4 separate regions of the Homo sapiens genome follow, and regions 2, 3 and 4 are each linked to region 1. Evidence: promoter capture Hi-C in 16 types of primary human blood cells and fetal thymus (Javierre and others, 2016). All regions are on one chromosome and are shown on one strand. The core of a region is centred on a gene start or on the middle of the fragment in contact, and the rest is flanking DNA. Distances in the headings are between cores, read along the strand shown.

Region 1 (3,250 bases), core at 375-2,874:
ACCAGGGCCAGCTGGGCCTAACCTGACTCCCGCCTGCCTCCCCTGGCTCCCCTGGCCCCCCTGGCCACCATACTCATCACTTGCACTCCTCACCTGCCACTGGTGGCTTTGCTCTGTAGGACCCTCCAGGGCAGGGTTTGTGCAGAAGACAAAGTGGCCATGTTTACAGAATGCCAAAGCCATGTTCTTAGAGGTCATGAGAGAGAGTGTGTGTGTATGTGTGTGTGTGTGTGGTGTGTGATGTGTGTGTGGTGTGTGGTGTGTGATGTGTGTGGTGTTTATGTGTATGTAGTATGTGTGTATGTGGTGTGTGTGGTGTGTGGTATGCATGTGGTGTGGTGTATATGTGTGTGTGGTGTGTATGTGTGTGTGAGATCTGTGTGTATTGTGTGTGTGGTGTGTATATGCGTGTGGTGTGTGTGGTGTGTGGTACATGGGTGGTTGTGGGTATATATGTGTATGGTGTGTGTGTAGTGTGTATGTGTGTGGTGCGTGTGGAATATGTGTGGCATGTGTGGTGTGGGGTGTGTGTGTGGTGTCTGTGTGTATGTGTATGTGTGTGTGGTGTGTGTGGTGAGTGTGTGTGTGATGTATCTATGGTGTGTATGGTGAGTATGTGTGTGGTGTGTGTGGTGTTTGTGTATGTGTGTGATGTGTTTGGAGTGTGTGTGTGGTGTTTGCGTGTGTCTGTGATGTATATGTGGTGTGTGCGTGATGTGTGTGTGGCGTGTATGTGTGTATGTGTATGGTCTGTGTGGTGTTTGTGTGTGTATATGTGTGTGATGTGTGTGTGCTGTGTGTCTCTGATGTGTGTGGTGTGTGTGTGGTGTGTGTGCGTGTACGTGCGCGTGTATGTGTGGTGTGTGTGGTGTGTATGTGTGTGATGTTTGTGTAGTGTGTGATGTGTATGAGTGTGTGTGTGGTGTGTGGTATGTTTGGGTGGGTGTGTATATGTGTTGGAGAGGGTGTGGGGGGTTTGGGGGGGTGTGTGACTAATATGTGTGGAGGGGGTGTTGGGGGTGTGGTGGGTATATGTGTAGGTGTGTGGTATGTGTGTGTGTATGTAGTATGTGTGTATGTGGATGTGCCTGTGAGCTATGTGTGAATGTGTATATAGGAGTCTTTTAGTGTGTGTGTATCGATCGGTGGGCATGCGCCTGTGTGTGAATCTGGGAGTGTGAGGTGTGAGTGGGGCGCGTGGCGTTTGGGGTAGTGTGTGATGTGTATGGTGTGTGGTGTTTGTGTGTGTGTACGTGTGTGCTGTGTGTGGTGTGTGTGTGGTGTTTCTGTGTGTGTATGTGTGTGATGTGTGTGGGGTGTGTGTGGTGTTTGTGTGTGTACGTGTGTGGTGTGTGTGTGGTGTTTGTGTGTATGTGTGTGATGGTGTGTGTGGTGTGTGTGGTGTTTGTGTGTGTGTATGTGTGTGTGTGGTTGTGTGTGGTGTTTGTGTGTATGTGTGTGCTGTGTGTGTGGTCAGTAAGGTTCTGCATGGTCTTTTCACCGCCCCCGCAGCAGGGCATCCGCCACGTCAACGCTGGAGCCAAAGCCCCCACCCAGGTTACAGGTGTAGCCACCGCTGTAGCCTCCCCCAAGTCCCACCAAGAAGCAGGAGGAGGTGACCGACATGTTGCCACAGCTGCTGACTCCCAGGAGGCTGGCGAAAGGCACCCCCAACACTGACAGATGACATCCAGGAGAAACCCCCGCCAGGTGTCCACAGGCCCTTGACAGAGCCAGAGGTGGAGAACTGGCAGATGCTGGTAGTGGTGACAACCAGGGTGTCCATGGGTCGGGTGAAGAGTCTGGTCTGGATGGAGACCCTGGGTAGCCCGTTACAGCCGGGCTGAAGTGGGGCTGGGACCCTGGCCCTTGAAGTTCAGGCCAAAACCCCAGGAGTGTATTTTGCCTCCTCCCACCCACCCAGGGCCTGGGGCTCAGGCTGGACATATTGAGAGCCTCCCCAAGGACCCCTCCATAGCAAGAGCCCAGCCTGAGCACCAGGGCCTCAGCGGTCTGTTCAGACACAAAGGTGGTGGCCAGGCACGGTGGCTCACGCCTGTAATCCCAGCACTTTGAGAGGCAGAGGCAGGTGAACCACCTGAGGTCAGGAGTTTGAGACCAGACTGGCCAACATAGCAAAACCCCATCTCTACTAAAAATACAAAAATTAGCTGGGCGTGGTGTCACGAACCTGTAATCCCAGCTACTCAGGAGGCTGAGGCAGGAGAATAGCTTGAACCTGGGAGGTGGAGGTTGCAGTGAGCCGAGATCACACCATTGCACTCCAGCCTGGGCAACAAGAGTAAAAATCTGTCTCAAAAAAGAAAGAAAGAAACAAAGGTGGTGCTGGTCTGTAGCCCTGGGGTAGGGTGACCCTCCATCCTCAGCCACAGTTAGGAGGCTGAGCTTATTCTTGTGGGGAGCCCGGAGAACCCAGCCCTGGGAGCCAGCACGGGCACAGGACAAGGCTGCACAGGCCAGGAGCCGGAGGCTGGCCTGGCCCCTCACCCAGCATTCCAGGGCCCTGGGGTAAGGGTGGAGAGATCGGGGCCTGACATCATTGCCCAGGTACAACGTGGCCCTGGTGGAGACTCCCAGTCAGAGGAGGCAGAATTAGCCTCTGACCTGTGGGAGCCCCACTCTCTTGGGATTCTTCCAAGTCCGCGGGGAGATACAGCCCACAGGTTCAAGGATCCCTGTGTCTGAGGGAAATAGACGTGGCCGCTGAACTGAGGGAGCTTTGGATCCAAGCCTTTCAGGAAGTCAGTTCTAGAGCCTCCGTTCCCTCGTTTGTAAAAGGGGGACCAAGTCTTGTCTCCCAAAGTCTTTGAGGGAATCTGGAGAGATAATGACGTCAGTAAGGCTCTAACAAAACAGGAAGCAGAGGTGGGGCTGGGAGCAGGGGTCTGAGGCCAAAGGGTTAGGGCAGCCTCCCTCCTCACCCGAACCTGAGCAATGTCAGTCCAGAGCAGTCCCGGAGGAGGGGAGGGCAGCCCAGGAAGGCCACAGAGGAGCAGGATCTGTGCAGGAGCCAGCGTCATGCCCCGAGGAACGGCCCCTGCAAAAGAGCAGCATGATCCGCAGGCTGGTGGCTGGCACCGCTCCACCCAACAAGGAGATTAGTATCCTAATCTCCGCGGCACTAATGATTTAGGTGCTGCCAGGACACCGGCGTCTGCACCAGGCCTGTCTGAATGTGGAGCTTCCCAGGGCAGCCAGGGCCCGCGGAACAGGAGAGGGGAGAGAAGTG
Region 2 (3,250 bases), core at 356-2,855, 670 kb before region 1:
TCCAGCCTGGTGACAGAGTGAGACTCCATCTCAATAAATACATAAATAAATAAATAAAAAATAAAATAAAATCCATCCTAAATTTATATAAATACCATGATCCACTAGAATGTCAACTCCATGAGGGCAGGGACTTTTTAAAGGTCACCAATATTTTCCCAGAATCTAGAACAATGTTTGGCCCAATGTTGTTGCTGCTCAGTAAACATTTGTTGAATGAATAAAACTGAATAAATCCAGATATGTAGTAGCAGAATACGTCTGTGCATAACAAACTTAGGTTTGGTGTAGAAACAAACCAAGCAATGTGGAGATGATAACATAAGCATAAAAGGAGAAAAAGGTGGTGATGGTTGAAAAATGGATAAAAACTAAATTGCTTAGAAACTCATTAAAGCAAAATTTATTTTCTCTGATCTCTGTTTCCCTATTTTTATTTAAAAAATGGCAACAACTTGCTGTTAACATCTTTTGGTCCTGAGTCATCTAGTTATAATGGTAGAGTGTATTTCTGGAGAAAGGAAACACCATGAGACTCTTCTTTTTGTTTCTGATTTTTAAAGACATAGTCTCACTTTTGTCTGGGCTGGAGTGCAGTGGCAGGATCTTGGCTCATGGCAGCCTCAACCTCTTGGGCTCAAGTGATCCTCCCACCTCAGCCTCCCAAGTAGCTGGGACCACAGGCATGTGCCACCACGCCCATCTAATTTTTTTTTGTGTGTGTATGTGTGTGTGTGTGTGTGTGTGTGTAAGGATGGAATTTCATCATGTTGCCCAGGATGGTCTAGAACTCCTGGGCTCAAGTGATCTGTCTGCCTCAGCCTCCCAAAGTGTTAGGATTACAGGTGTGCATCACTGCGCCTGACCAGAAATACTATCAGACTCTGAATGCTGCCTCAAGATGACAATTTCACTCAAGAAATTTTTCTATTCTTCAAAAAAATTTTCAGCATCAACTGAACAAAAAATATTAAAGTTTAGCAAATAACTGTTGCTTGGAAACCATTAATTCACAACACGATTAAACAGGTTCTTAGGAATCTTACCTTCTGCTGGAGCTCCTCAATGGTAGTGTAGTAAGACAGGTAATCAGGACATAGAACAGGGAGCTCTTTGTTACTTTCTTCCTGGATTTTAGATTCCAGTTCAGCATTCTCTCGTTCTAGCATTCGCACCTTTTGCAGGTAGTTAGCAAGGCGCTCGTTCAAGATTTGCATGGTCTCCTTCTCATTACTGTTGATGCCTTCACCATACCAGCTGCAGTCATCCAGAGAAAAACGGGCATTGAAGTTGTTCATTAGGTAGATGGGCTTGCGACAAAAGCGAGGAGTGGGTTGGCAGCCCTGGTCCCAGGGAATTCTGAGAACGTGGCCAGCTGGTTGACAGTTGTTGACTGTAAGGCCACCAGGATGGCAGCCGTTGTTAGAAGAGATGGTACTAACATTTGTAATCCTAGAGCAGTTTTGACATGGGGTTGAAGGAGAATTGGTTGTTGTACAGCCCTTGGTGTCCATAGTATGTGTCTGGCTTTAGTTTGTTCCAGGTCTGTGGTCACCAGGATGAAAAGCTCAAGCCACCTCCACAGAGTCTGAATTCCAAGGCTCTTGGTGTTTTCCTCTTTGAAGTGCTTATATAGCCTCTCTTCTACGTGGTGTCACACAGGTGGGATGTTTTCCTTTCTCAGGTTTATATCAAATCCTGTAGGAACATCTTATTAGTCTGCTTTTTACTTGCTTAAGAAGAGTTATTTGTCTCATAAACATGTGCATTTAGGCTGTTAGTAAGTTATTACCCATCATAACTACTACTTGTCTATTGGACCCAGAGCTTCAAATTATGTCTTCAAAAGGAACTGTCCTAACAGCATCCATTATTAAGCAGGTGTGAGTATACTAAGTTCATTACATTCTTGTTGACCTCTCCACTTGGCACTGAGCTTAACCAGGAATGAGTTCATCCTTCTTTTCCTTTCTTCTCTAGAAAAGGGAAACTATTAATGTTTAATAATTATTGGTAAACTTAGAAATCAGAAGTCAATATTTTAGTTTGTTCTGCCCAAATGGTTTCCCCATTTTCAGTGTCAGGACAATGTGAGTATGAATTAAAATGTTAGTCTTTTAAAAGTCTTGTTTTAAAGATAATTGCTAGATTTATGTTTTAGCTTTCCATAAAATGTAATAACATAAAATAAAATATAAATAAAATATGAAATAAAATAAAAGCCATGGGGAAAAGGTAGGGTTTGATTGCTAATAAGAAATTTCTTGGAAAAGAGACTAGCTCTCTTTTGGTTTTCCAAAGTCCACATTTTATAACATTTTTAGTGCTTGGTGTTTGCTTGTGGTATTACATTAGATAAAAATGTATCACAGTGTTGGTTTATACTGGATGTTTAAATAGGATTCATTGAAAGGGGTGTGTTTTCTTTCTGAGGAATACTTACTCAGCATTTTCTTCAGAAAGTTACTTGCTGCTAATCCTTTATGGAGGCTCTAGGGGAACATCATTTTCTTGCCTTTTCCAGCTTCTACAGGCTGTCCACATCCTCAGCTAGTGGCCCCTTTTCATCCTTTTTTTTTTTTCTTGAATTATGAGATTTTTTGTACTTTGAGTTCTGGGATACATGTGCAGAACGTGCAGGTTTGCTACATAGGTATACAAGTGCCATGGTGGTTTGCTGTACCCATCAACCTGTCATCTACATTAGGTATTTCTCCTAATGCTATCCCACCCCTAGCCCCTCACCCCCTCACAGTCCCCGGTGTGATGTTCCCCTCCCTGTGTCCATGTGTGCTCATTGTTCAACTCCCACTTATGAGTGAGAACATGCAGTGTTTGGTTTTCTGTTCCTGTGTGAGTTTGCTGAGAATGATGGTTTCCAGCTTTATTCATGTCCCTGCAAAGGACATGAACTAATCCTTTATTATGGCTGTATAGTATTCCATGGTGTATATGTGCCACATTTTCTTTATCCAGTCCATCATTGATGGGCATTTGGGTTGGTTCCATGTCTTTGCTATTGTGAATAGTGCTGCAATAAACATACATGTGCATGTGTCTTTATAGTAGAATGATTTATAATCCTTTGGGTATGTATCAAGTAATAGGATTGCTGGGTCAAACTGTATTTATGGTTCTTGATCCTTAAGAAATTGCCACACTGTCTTCTGCATTGGTTGAACTAATTTACACTCCCACCAACTGTGTAAAAGTGTTCCAATTTCTCTCCATCCTCTCCAGCATCTGTTGT
Region 3 (3,250 bases), core at 194-2,693, 600 kb before region 1:
GGTGCTCTCTATAGCTGTTTCTTCTACTATCATTTAGACCAAAGATACACCTTATGCATACGTACATCAAATGAAGGTGAATAGTGGGAGTTGAAGCTTAGAGAGCAATTCAAGGATCAGTGGGAAGAATGTGAAAGGCTAAGGTGTAGAAATTAAACCTAAATTCTCTTGGAAAATAGGTAGTATCTAGTAGCTATTTTTAAATCTATTTAGAAGGTAATGCAATTTCTTTAGATTTTGGGGCATAAATGAAGGAGAACATTTAGTATATTAAATGGAAGGAGACAAAAGATGGTAGAATTACATTTAGATAGAAATCAATAGCTTTGATCAACCTTAACATTTTAGCTAAAGGTCAACCTTTATTGGTCTAGACCTAATCATAATAGATTAGAGCATGTAAATATTTGAACTATAAAAATTCTTTAATTCATGGAGCATTTTTAAGCTGATGGATTCAAGCATAATTTACTTTGTATTTAATCTTTCTGGTTTAGACTTTATGGTTATGCCTTGGTATTATTATCAAATTGCAAATCCACTCTTGAATACCAGCTACAAGAAGACATGTTTAAAGGTAGAAGGAGGACATAACTCAGTTTGCTTTGCACATTAAAACATTTTATTTGGATTAATCAGAGATATTCAAGGAAAAACCAGGTCTGAAGATGCATGAGCATCAAGAGAGAGTTGGGGGAGCAGAGATGTCACTGAAATGATGAACTATTCCATCCTGGTCCTCTGCTCAAGCAACGCAAGCTATCCAGAACACTGATTGATACATCTTTCAGTAAGTGAATTCGGCACATCCACAGTGTCCTAACTAGGAGTTTCATTATCTCTGAGCAGCTTAACAACATCATGGTACTTAGCATCCAAGTAAAATCGAACAGTTCTTCAGAAATCAGCACAATTTTGCTGTGCTTCCCCTTTCATTCTTAAGCGATCAGCAACCTGGCTTTTAGCAGGTGGGCTCACAGCAGTGGCAGCAGCAGGCTGGGCGGCAGCAGGACTGTCCACAGTAGGACGGGCGGCAGCAGGAGGCCTCGGCGTGGTGCAGCTGGCAGCAGGATGGGGGTGTGCAGCTTACCAGGTAGCAGGGGGGCAGGCAGGTGCCCTCCACGTGGCAATCTGGGTGGCACCACCTGATACGGGTGCTCACAGATCCACCGCTGCCCTCCTGGCCATAGCCAATGCCACCACCAATGCCACAGCCGGTTCCGCAGGAGCTGGTCTGGCAGCAGCTTGGCTGGCAGCAGCTAGTTTCACAGCAGCTTGGCTGGCAGCAGCTGGAGCCACAGGTCCCACTGGTGGAACAGCTGGCCATGGTGTCAGGAGTTGGGTTGAGAGCTGTGTTAAGAGAGGTTTCTGAGTTTGGGCTGTACCTTCTATATCTGTCCTTTGATATGTTCCCTAGAGCTGCATATTTACCCAACACCTTTTCTTGATGTCAATTTCAGTGTGAGTCTCTGGCTAATACCTGAGGTGTTTATAAAGTTATAAATAGCATTTCAATAGCCTTTTTCCATTGTACAATTAAGTCTCATTATGTTTCTTCTTTGCCCTCTGGGCGAAGTGAAGGCTCATCATGGAAGCCAAGCACCGAAGTGCCTCTTTATGCAAGTCACATGACAGACTAGCCTTGAGCCAAGTGTCGCCCTGGCACGTTTTGTCATAGTTGTCCTTTGATAACCTTTAGGCAGAATTTATCTTAACTGATCATTTTTCCTTAAATGGTCACTTAACTATGATCATGATTTTATAAACAATTTGTCCAGACTTGGAAAGACTAACATTAGTGTCATCAAAACATGAACTACAACCTGATGTATCAACTTTCAAACCAAGTATGCCTTTCTATGATCAATTTGTGCAAGTTATAGGATCCTCAGAGCTCTATCTAATATTCTTGCCTTCAGTAATAGTGAATGTACAAATTGCTAACTAAAATCTTTAATGACTTTTGCTTGTAGATTGTTTTCTGACTCTATTAAATTAAACATATGTGCTAGTAATGAGTACACATTGTAACAAGTCAAAGAGTACAGAGGTATATAAAGAAAAATTAGTGTCTTTTCCCTTCCTGGAAGATGCACACATCTCTTCCAAAACTAATGCTCTAGAGGTAATCAATATTAAGAATTTGGTGCACATTCTTTGACACCTTTATCCTTGCTTCTGCAAATATAAACCAGCATATATACATATATATCTTCTATTTCAGAAAAGTTTGGGTCTCCTACACATGTTTATAGTTACAAATTTTTAATTGTGGTAAAATATACATACCATAAAATTTATGAACCATTTACATTAACCATCTTAACCATTTGTAAATAGTCTTGTCACCCTTGTTGAAAATCATTTGACCACATTCACATTCAGAAGAAATGAAATTAGACCATTGTCTCACATTATATACAAAAACCAACTTAGAATGGATTAAAAGACTGAAATGTAAGAAAGACTCAAAATGATAAAACTATAAGAAGAAAACAGAGGAAACTCCATGACTTTTGCCTGGCCAATATTGTGATATTGTGAACATGAATCCAAAAGCATCAGCAAAAATAGACAAGTGGGATTACATCAAACTAAAAAGCTTCTGCACAGCCAATAAAACACTAAACTGAGTGAAGACGCAAACCGCTGAATGGGAGAAAATATTTATAAACCACATATCTGATAAAGGGTTAATATCCAAAGTATAGAGGAAACTCAAACAACTCAATACCTGTAGTAAGAAAACAAATAACGTAATTGAAAAATGGGCAAAAAATCTAAATAGACATTTCTCAAAAAAAATCTACAAATTGCCAACAGGTATATGAAAAATTTTCAAAATCACCAATCATCGGATAATGCAAATTGAAACCACAATGAGATATCGTCTCACACATATTAGATAGTTATTATCAAAAAGACAAAAGATAGCAAGTGTTGGAGAGGAAGTGGAGAAAAGAGAACTCTGGCACACTGTTGGTGGAAATGTAAATTAGTACAGCCATTATGGAAAACAATATGAAGGTTCATCAGAAAATTAAAAATAGAACTGTCATATAATCAAGCAATCCCACTTCTGTGTATATACCCGAAGGAAAGTAAATCAGTATTTTGAAGAGACATCTGCATTCCCATGTTCATTGCAGCATTACTCACAATAGCCAAGATATGGAAGCAACCTAAGTGTCCATGTCCATCATTAAATGAGTGGATAAAGAAAATGTGATACACACACACATACACACAC
Region 4 (3,250 bases), core at 218-2,717, 590 kb before region 1:
CAGTATGTTGAGGAGATTTCTGCACTTCCATGTTTATTGCAGCACGATTCACAACAGCCAACATATGAAAACAATCTAAGTGTTCATCAATGGATGAATGGATAAAGAAAATGTGACACACACTCACACCCAAACACACAATGAAATACTATCAGCCATGAAAAAGAATGAAATACTGTCATGTGCAGCAACATGGATGAACCTGGGGGACATTATGTTAAGTGAAATTAACCAGGCACAGAAAGACAAATAGCACATTCACTCACTCCTATGTGAAATCTAAAGAAGTTGATCTCATAGAAGTAGAGAGTAGAATAGTGACTACCAGAGGCTGGGGAGGGTGAGAGGAGGGGAGGATAGGCAGAGATTGGTCTACAGGTACAAAGTTACAGGTAGATAGGAGGGATAAGTTTTGGTATTCTAATGTACAGTAGGGTGACTGTGGTTAGTAATATTTTATCATATATTTCAAAATAGCGATCAGAGAATATTTTAAATGATCTTACCATGAAGAAATGATAAATGTATGAGGTGACGAATATGCTAAACACCCTGACTTGATTATTACACAACGTATACATGTATGGAAACATTACATTGCACCCCATAAATATGTACAATTATGTGTCAGTTTTTTTAATTAAAAAATTAATTTAATACAAAATATTAGAATGAGTAAATAAAACCAAATCTTTTTGCAAGGCCAAAGAACAGATATTTATTAGAAAATAAACATGCCACGAAATCTTAAGAAGAAGGAAATTGCTTCTTTTACAGACTTCAGAATGGCCCAGGTCTTAATAGATGAGCCCAGTGCTCGGTTCCCTGCTTGGTTGATGTGGGGTTTTGTGGGCTCAGGGCAGGAGGTTTGTTAAAGTAGAGAAATGGGAGTGTGACTTTTTCAGAAGGTGAGTTACGCGTTCCGGGCAGTCAGTGCACTGCTCAGCAGGAGGAGGTCCTGCAGGTGGTGCTGCAAGGGGTCGGCTGGCCGCAGGGGGACTGCACAGACACAGGCTGGCAGCAGGTGGTGGCTCAGCAGGAGGAGGTCCTGCAGGTGGTGCTGCAAGGGGTCGGCTGGCCGCAGGGGGGCCGGCAGCAGGGGGACTGCACAGACACAGGCTGGCAGCAGGTGGTGGCCCAGCAGCAGGGCCTGCACACCACAGCCGTGCACGACGAGGGGCAGCAGGTGATGGGGCGGCAGCAGCCTTCCTGCAGGGAGCAGGGGTCGCAGCACACCGGGCGGCGGCAGGGCTCGCAGATGGGGCGCGTGCAGCGGGGCACGCAGGTCACGGGGCGGCACACGGTGGTCTGGCAGGTCACGGGGCGGCAGCAGCAGGGGTCGCGGCAGCAGCAGGGCTGGCAGCAGCCTCCCCCGTAGCTCAGGGAGGAGAAGGTGGAGCCGCAGCAGGAGCCGGTCATGGTGGTGTCTGAGGCTGGTGTGGGTTGGGCTGTGGAGAGGAGCTGGATGTTCTCAGGTGTGAATGTCCTCCTCCCCCTCTGGGCCCTTTATATACCCTGGCCGGGTGCAGGTGACCCTTTTCGTTTACCTTTTGGCCAATTAAGTAGAATTTTGTTTTGACTAATGGTTGCTTGTGACACACTCATTATCTCACTAAAGAGCTCTTGTTTTATCTCTAAGTATGGATGTACTCACATTGGGTGAAAATCTAAGAACTCATCGTCATTTGAGGTGATAGTAGCTCTTGATGCTTATTTTGAGTAGATAACACTGGATCAAATCTGGACAAAACGGTCTAAAAAAACTTCAGTTTTTAAAAGAAATTAAAAACATAGAGAAGTACATAGAACATTGAGTAGAGCCTATCCTGACCCCAATAGGGGACTCAAGTCCTTGGAAGCACCTACATGTGAAACGTGAATCACACGAGTGTTAGACAAGCCCTCCCACGTAGTCTGCTTGGGAATACGTTTGATTATCACTTGATATAGTGGGATACATAGGCCTTGAATAGGATAGCAGCTCATAGAGTTGTACAGGACAGACAAAAATTTTTGCAAACCACTAAGTGTTGGAATAAAACCTCCAAGACTGCCTTGCATGTTTTCTTTTCTCTAGTTCAGGTTCTGTGCAACTCTGGTCTTTCTGTCATAAGATGCTGATTTTTATCTCTGAAACATGTCATTTTTTAGCGTTGCCTTTCTTGTGCATGTAATGAAGAATTCTGTAATGGGAAATTTTTCTGAATATACCTTGTTGGCCGGGCGCAGTGGCTCATGCCTGTAATCCCAACACCTGGGGAGGCCAAGGCAGGTGGATCACCTGAGCTCAGGAGTTCAAGACCACCCTGGGCAACATGGTGAAACCTCAACTCTAATAAAATACAAAAAATTAGCTGGGTGTGGTGGCAGTGCCTGTAGTCCCAGCTGTGCCGGAGGCTGGGGAACGAGAATCACTTGAGCCCCAAAGGCGGAGGTTGCAGTGAGCCGAGATCATGCCATTGCACTCCAGCTTGGGCTACAGAGTGAGACTCCATCTCAAAAAAGAAATATGCATATATACTTTGACATAGGTGCTCTGATTAGCAAGTGACAAGAAAGGGGTTTTCAACCAACATTGCACACATATCCAGAACACTGTTCAGGGGTAGACGCATTGGGAGGCTGCCCAGTGTTCTGCTGTGGCACTGCTAAAAGCGTGATGGATGCGCTTCTTCAGGAAGTGTTGCCAGGGGCAGTTCAGGAACTACATGGGGGAAACAGTCCCATTACTTTCCAGCTTTACTCCTCCTGTTAGTCACCAGACAGGGTTTTGAATCACTTCGGGATCATTTTCTTTATTTGAAAGAATGTGCCTTGGGGCCGGACATCTAAAGCTCCCCAAATGGAATTTCAAGCATAATTTCAAAACTTTAAGAGGAATGTAAATTGACTGGACCCGGTAGTCACAATTAGGGAAACAGAAGAGGGAGATATCAGGCACAATCTCATCGCTAGAGACCTTTGACTCTCCTGTTTTACATTCTTTTCTTTGTTTACGGACGTGGGATTTTTGTTTTTCAAAGTGGTAACCAGAGGTAACTAGGTAAAAAGTTGTATATTCTGCTCTTTTCGAGACATATTATCTCATAATTTATTTTCATGCTGCTGTGGAGTCTTCATGATAATCACATTTTATGCAATGGGAGCCTCTTTGGAAGACTTAAATCATCACATTAACAAGACTCATTTCTCTACTGCAGAAACTTCAAACCCAAGGTCATTCTAAAGAGATCTGTCTCTCCCCTTTATA

Evidence for each region. The method cuts DNA at HindIII sites, captures the fragments that hold promoters and counts their contacts. A CHiCAGO score of 5 or more calls a contact.
Region 2: a contact is called between the fragment with the promoter of KRT39 here and a fragment that was not itself captured in region 1, in 1 of 17 cell types (non-activated CD4 T cells). The highest score is 7.3, in non-activated CD4 T cells.
Region 3: the fragment with the promoter of KRTAP1-4 here is called in contact with a fragment that was not itself captured in region 1 in 5 of 17 cell types (total B cells, non-activated CD4 T cells, total CD4 T cells and 2 more); the score reaches 6.1 in total B cells.
Region 4: the fragment with the promoter of KRTAP2-1 here is called in contact with a fragment that was not itself captured in region 1 in 5 of 17 cell types (total CD4 T cells, activated CD4 T cells, naive CD8 T cells and 2 more); the score reaches 9.0 in total CD4 T cells.

Annotation. Positions count from the first base shown.
Region 1 is chr17:41,632,345-41,635,594 of GRCh38, forward strand. It overlaps the pseudogene KRT42P. Among named protein-coding and RNA genes, the nearest start is that of KRT17, 9.4 kb to the left of the region's middle. The HindIII fragment of the contact is 4,882 bases long and covers 1-3,250 here.
Region 2 is chr17:40,965,343-40,968,592 of GRCh38, forward strand. KRT39 (keratin 39) reads right to left here and starts at 1,606. Exons shown (of 7, transcript NM_213656.4): 1 at 1,047-1,606. The coding sequence starts at 1,514. All of the region lies in intron 1 of LOC107985072 (a long non-coding RNA gene), which reads left to right. The HindIII fragment of the contact is 5,044 bases long and covers 1-3,250 here.
Region 3 is chr17:41,028,752-41,032,001 of GRCh38, forward strand. KRTAP1-4 (keratin associated protein 1-4) reads right to left here and starts at 1,444. Exons shown (of 1, transcript NM_001257305.2): 1 at 600-1,444. The coding sequence starts at 1,327. The coding sequence ends at 962. RefSeq lists an enhancer at 534-1,083. The HindIII fragment of the contact is 2,506 bases long and covers 95-2,600 here.
Region 4 is chr17:41,045,849-41,049,098 of GRCh38, forward strand. KRTAP2-1 (keratin associated protein 2-1) reads right to left here and starts at 1,468. Exons shown (of 1, transcript NM_001123387.1): 1 at 693-1,468. The coding sequence starts at 1,419. The coding sequence ends at 1,033. The HindIII fragment of the contact is 11,978 bases long and covers 1-3,250 here.